Linked DNA regions of Homo sapiens: region 1 is linked to region 2. The links are contacts of gene promoters, found by promoter capture Hi-C in human tissues and cell types (Jung and others, 2019). All regions are on one chromosome and are shown on one strand. Each heading gives the region's core, a stretch centred on a gene start or on the middle of the fragment in contact. The rest is flanking DNA. Distances are from core to core; before and after follow the strand shown. Region 1 overlaps FLVCR1 (FLVCR choline and heme transporter 1). Region 2 holds the start of VASH2 (vasohibin 2).

Region 1 (3,188 bases), core at 689-3,188, 57 kb before region 2:
AAAAAAAAAAACAGTATTATTGTTATACCAAAGAAGGGAGCAGTTTTGTAATCCTCCTTCAAATTACTTTTACAAGAGATTCATGAATACTAATTCAAACAAATCAAGTCTAGAAAATTAAGAAGTGAAAATAGATCTTTAAAATTAGTTTTACATTGATGCTTTTACCATCTCAAATGGTATTCCCTGAGGCACAACAATATTGAAATCAGGGCCCTGATTAATACCCCCAAATTATTACCCCTACAGTGGCCTCCAGGTGTTTAAGCAAAAGGAAGAGTAGTAAATCTCTCCTCTTAAATCAGAAGCTAAAAATGATTAAGCTTAGTGAACAAGTCATGTCAAAAGCCCAGATAGGCCAAAAGCTAGTCCTTTTGCACCAAACAATTAGCCAAGTTGCTAATGCAAAGGAAAAATTCTTAAGGGAAATTAAGAATGCTACTCCAGTGAACACAAATGATAAAACAGCCTATTGATATGGAGAAAGTTTGAGTGGTCTTGTTAGAAGATCATACCAGCCACAACATCGCCGTAAGCCAAAGCCTAATCTAGAGCAAGGCCCTAACTGTCCAATTCTGTGAACGTTGAAAGAGGTGAGAAAGTTGCGGAAGAAAAGCTGGAAACTAGCAGAGGTCAGTTCATGAGGTAAGGAAAGAAGTTGTCTTCATAACATAAAAGTGCAAGGTGAAGCAGCAAGTGCTGATGTAGATGCTGAAGTAGGTTATCCAGAAGATCTAGCTAAGATGATTGATGAAGGTGGCTACAATAAACCACAAATTTTCCATGTAGATGAAACAGGCTTATACTGGAAGAAGATGCCATCTAGGACTGCCATAGCTAGAGAGGAGGAATCAATGTCTGGCTTCAAAGGACAAGCTCATTCTCTTGTGAGGGGTTGATGCAGCTGGTGACTTCACATTGAAACTAATGCTTGTTGACCATTCTGAAAATCCTAGGGCCCTTAAGAATTAGGCCAAATTTTCTCTGCCTAAGCTCTAACAATGGAACAATGAACCTGAACCCCGTAGTTGATAGTACATCTGTTAGTAGCATGGTTTGCTGAATATTTTAAACCCATTGTTGAAGCCTGCTACTGAGAAAAACATTCCTTTCAAAATACTACTGCTCATTGACCAATTCACCTGTTTACCCAAGAGCTCTGATGAAGATGTACGAGGAGATCAATGTTGCTTTCATGTCTGGAAACACAGCATCCCTTCTGCAGCCCGTGGATCAAGGAGTAATTTCAACTTTCAAGTCTTATTCTTTAAGAAATACACTTCAAAAGGCTGTAGCTGCCAGAAATAATTATTCCTCTCTTGGATCTGAGCAAAGTAAATTGAGAACTTTCTGGAAAGGATGCACCATCCTAGATGCCATTAAGAACATTCTTGATTCATGGGAGGAGGTCAAACTATCAACATTAACAGGAGTTTGGAGGAAGTTAATTCCCATTCTCATGGATGATTTTGAGGTGTTCAAGACTTCAGTGGAGGAAATAGCTGCAGATGTGGTGGGAATAACAAGAGAACTGGAATTAGAAGTGGAATATGAAGAGGTAACTGAATTGCTGCATCTTATGGTAAAACCTGAAGAAATGAAGGGTTGCTTCTTTTTTTTTGGGGGGGGGTGCCGGAATGTTGCTGTGTTGCCCAGGCTGGAGTGCAGTGGCGTGATCTCGGCTCACAGCAAGCTCTGCCTCCCGGGTTCAGGCCATTCTCCTGCCTCAGCCTCCTGAGTAGCTGGGACTACAGGTGCCCGCCACCACGCCCGGCTAATTTTTTGTATTTTTTGTAGAGACGGGGTTTCACCATGTTAGCCAGGATGGTTTTGATTTCCTGACCTTGTGATCTGCCTGCCTCGGCCTCCCAAAGTGCTGGGATTACAGGTGTCAGCCACTGCGCCTGGCTGGGTTGCTTCTTATGGATAAGCAAAGAAAGTGTTTTCTTGAGTTGGAATCTACTAGTAAAGATGCTGTAAATGTTGAAATGACAACAAAGGATTTAGAATATTATATAAACTTAGCTGATGAAGCAGTGGCAGGGTTTGAGAGGATCAACTCCTGTTTTGAGGAAGTTTTGTGGGTAAAATGTTATCAAACAAGTATTGCACACAGAGAGATCTTTCATGAAAGGAAGAGTTGATTAATACGGCAAACTTCGTCACTGTCTTACTTTAAGAAATTGCCACAGCCGCTCCCACCTTTTAGCAACCACCACCCTGATCTGTCAGCAGCCATCAACATCAAGGCAAGACCCTCCACCAGCAAAAAGATAACTTGCAGAAGGCTTGGATAATCATTAGCATTTTTTAGCAGTAAAGTGTTTTTTGTTTTGTTTTGTTTTTTTGAGATGGAGTTTCGCTCTTGTTGCCCAGGCTGGAGTGGAATGGCGCCATCTGGGCTCACTGCAACCTCTGCCTCCTGGGTTCAAGTGATTCTCCTGCCTCAGCCTCCTGAGTAGCTGGGATTACAGATGCCCACCACCACAACCAGCTAATTTTTGTATTTTAGTAGAGATGGGGGTTTCACTATGTTGGCTAGGCTGGTCTCGAACTCCTGACCTCAAGTGATCCACCCGCCTCGGCCTCTCAAAGTGCTAGGATTACAGGCATGAGCCACTGAGCCTGGCCAGTAAAGTGTTTTTAAATTAAGGCATGTAGATTGATTTTTTTTTTTAGACATAATGCTATTGCAAACTTTAAATAGACTACAGTATAGTATAAACATAACTTTTTATGCACTGGAAAACCAAAAAATATGTGCAGTGGTGCGATCTCTGCTCACTGCAACCTCCACCTCCCAGGTTCAAGTGATTCTTCTGTCTCAGCCTCCCTAGTAGTTGGGACTACAGGTGCGTGCCGCCACGCCTGGCTAATTTTTTGTGTTTTTAGTAGAGATGGAGTTTCACCGTGTTGGCCGGGATGGTCTCGATCTTCTGACCTTGTGATCCACCCACCTCGGCCTCCCAAAGTGCTGGGATTACAGGCATGACCCACCACGCCCAGCAATATTCACTCTTTTGTGGTGATCTGGAGCTGAACCCACAATGTCTCTGAGATATACCTGCATTCCCTTCTGCCTAGAATGCCTTCCTCTCCTCTTGTCTGCTTGACAAGTTATTACTCAGTTTTTTCCAGTATCAAGTATGTCTTCTCTGGAAAGCCTTCTCTAATTTCCTTTGGCTGAC
Region 2 (2,887 bases), core at 124-2,623:
TATTTAGTAGAGACAAGGTCTCGCTATGTTGGTCCAGTCTCTAATTCCTGGCCTCAAGTAATCCTTCCTCCTCTTTCTCCCAAAGTGCTGGGTTTAAAGGTGTGAGGCACCACGTCTGCCCTATTCTCATTATTGAATCTATAAAGTTCTTGGCATGGGCTCTGTCTCAGGGAGCAGTGCAGGGCTAAGTCCAGAATCCAGGTCTCCTCACCCAAGCCCTGGCTCTCAACTACCCCTCAGGGGTCTCTGCCCTCCTGTGGAAGAGAAGTTCCAGTTCCATGACAGGCAACTTGTCAGGATAAGCATCCAGAAACTGACCCGCCATCAGTGGCACTTTGACAACTGTCTTCTTAATTCAAGGTTCACTTAGCATAGGTCTCATAACTGCTTTGCTCAGAGCTGGCCTGCTGGCCTGCAGTTTAAAGAGAAAGGATGCTATGGCCAGGATCCTCAGTGTCACAAGAGAGGAAGTCAGGGAATCACAGAACCTTACAGCCAGAACAGACCCTGGAGAGCGGGAGGTCTGCTCTCCTTTCAGAAAGAGAAGCTAAGGCCCAGAGCAGGGAAGTGGCTTGTCCAGGGTCACACAGCTGAGCAAAGTGACAAACCTGGACCAGGAGCCAGCCTTCAGGTCAGCAGTCTGGTGCTCTTCCCACCTCAACCTGCTCTCCTCTTTCTTAAAGAAAAAGAAAGAGAAGGTGTTTCAGTAGTGAGTGTGGGATAGCCACCCACTTCACCATGGTTTGGAAGCATCTCTCCATCCCTCCTCTCACTCAACAGCTGTGGCAGAACAGTCAGGGCCTGCCTGACCTCTTGAGTTTTATTGTCTCCTCTCAACTTGGGCTTAAAGGGACTTTATTAACCATGACTAATACCAGAGGATCCAAAGCTGCACCCACTTGTTAATTTTGAGGAATTTTTAAATGCGGGATTTAAAAAAGATTTAATTTCACGCATAGGTATGAACAGCCCCTCATCATCCCAGGTAGAGGATGAACAACTCATCATCCCGGGTAGAGGCAGGTAAGTGTGTCCAGCGTCCCTCAGGGAATGCTCTTCTGATGCCAAACCCTCTGCTTCCGCGGGGTCACTTCTCGGGTGGTTTTGTTTCTCCTCTGCTTCCACAGTTGCAAACCCTCGAAGTGCCACGACCCCTGGGGAAACTCGATCTTAAGTCCCATGGCCAAACGCTCCAGCCCGCGGGGCTCTCAGGACACCACAGCGATCGGATTTCGCGTGGCCGCCAGGCTCCCCCTACTCCTGTCCCCTCCCGCCAGAGAACCCCTGGAGCCAATCAGAGCGTCGCGGAGCCCGGGGTTGTAGAGTCCCGAGCCCGGGACCCGCCCCTCTTTGTTGCGGTGGCCAATAGACGCATTCGGAACATCGGCGGCTGCCCGGGTGACTTGGTTATATGTCACAGAATAACATTCGAGAATGGGACATGGAATGAGGCGACGGCCCCAGCAAGCCCCAGCAGCCCCAGCCCCAGCCCCAGGCCCAGCAGCAGCAGCAGCAGCCCCTGCTCTCCCGCCGCCCGGAGAGGCTCTGCAGCCATGAAGCCAACCGTCCCGAGGTAGGATCTTGGAGCTGCCGCGCGCCCTTCCTGCGCGCCGCCCGCCTGCAGCCAGTCCCTCCCGGTGATAGGCGCTGGAACTCGGGGAAAAGGGGGCGGATGGAGCTCTTTCCACTAGATCCCCGCCGGGGTCCGGGAGGGCTTCCTGGAAGAAAGCGGGCCGCCTTGCAAGCCAAGGCTGCTGCAGCGCCCTCGCGCCAGCTCTGGGCGCTCACATGCCAGCACGTTCGTGGCTCCCCTCCTCTCTTGGCCACATCTGAGGACCCAGGAATGTGTGGAGCCTTGCGGGAACCTCCTGTTCCTTCATGCTACACAAGCTGTCTTTCTTCTCCCCACATCTTGCGCTCCGCATCCCCCAAGCTCCTTGTGCCCCTCCATCCCCAACCCCCCGGGTTTAGGTGTGTGTGAAGCTTCGTGGCACATTTTGAGCTGCCTTTCTAGGTAATCGCAGGGCTGGAAGCCCGTCATCGATTCTCAGGGAGGCTGTCAGCGTGCAGGGGGGAGCGGGGAGTGTCGTGGAGACACTCCGGGACCCCTCACTCGGTTCCGCTGTGCGTCCACTTAGCTGTGGTGTCAGCTGTGTCTCCGCTGATTTCAGGCACCGCCGGTAAGCAGGGAGCCTCCGCGGAGCTCCCGCCGCCGCTCCCCCTTGGTGAGTCCTGCCGCAGCGAGAGGCATGGAGAAGGCCGCCCCCGCGGGGCGCTGATCCCCTCGCCGCGCCCGCGCGCACACGCCCCCCGCCGCCGCCGCCGCTGCCGCCGCCGCGCGCCCCCAGTACCTCGCTCCCCGCCCAGGCCCCACCATGACCGGCTCCGCGGCCGACACTCACCGCTGCCCCCACCCCAAAGGCGCCAAAGGCACCCGGTCCCGGAGCAGCCACGCGCGGCCCGTGAGCCTCGCCACCAGCGGGGGCTCAGAGGAGGAGGACAAAGACGGCGGGGTGCTGTTCCACGTCAACAAGAGCGGCTTCCCCATCGACAGCCACACCTGGGAGCGCATGTGGATGCACGTGGCCAAGGTGCACCCTAAGGGGGGAGAAATGGTGGGCGCCATCAGGAACGCCGCCTTCTTGGCAAAGGTCAGTGGCTTCCAGGGCGGAGTTGGGGGGCTGGGGGTAGGTAGGCAGCGATGGGACCGTTTCAGCCTATACATAGCAAACACAGGCAATCTCCATTTTCCTAGTCCTGCTACAAACTCCCTTCCTCTCCCCATTCCTTCCTGCCAGCCCTTTTCTAATTGAGATATTTAGATTGGAAGCCTAAGAAATGGGGAAGGGAGAGGTAGCGGGCTTGCTATCCTGGGACTGTGTAATTG

Evidence for each region. The method cuts DNA at HindIII sites, captures the fragments that hold promoters and counts their contacts. A contact is called where the count stands out against the background at its distance.
Region 1: a contact is called between a fragment that was not itself captured here and the fragment with the promoter of VASH2 in region 2, in 4 of the 25 tissues and cell types used here (H1 embryonic stem cells, liver, lymphoblastoid cells and 1 more).

Annotation. Positions count from the first base shown.
Region 1 is chr1:212,891,445-212,894,632 of GRCh38, forward strand. The region is part of intron 8 of FLVCR1 (FLVCR choline and heme transporter 1); the gene reads left to right. Among named protein-coding and RNA genes, the nearest start is that of FLVCR1, 35 kb to the left of the region's middle. The HindIII fragment of the contact is 4,420 bases long and covers 1-3,188 here.
Region 2 is chr1:212,949,168-212,952,054 of GRCh38, forward strand. It overlaps VASH2 (vasohibin 2), which reads left to right and starts at 1,374. Exons shown (of 8, transcript NM_001301056.2): 1 at 1,374-1,573; 2 at 2,172-2,651. The coding sequence starts at 2,376. RefSeq lists enhancers at 1,360-1,509, 2,030-2,079. The HindIII fragment of the contact is 12,745 bases long and covers 1-2,887 here.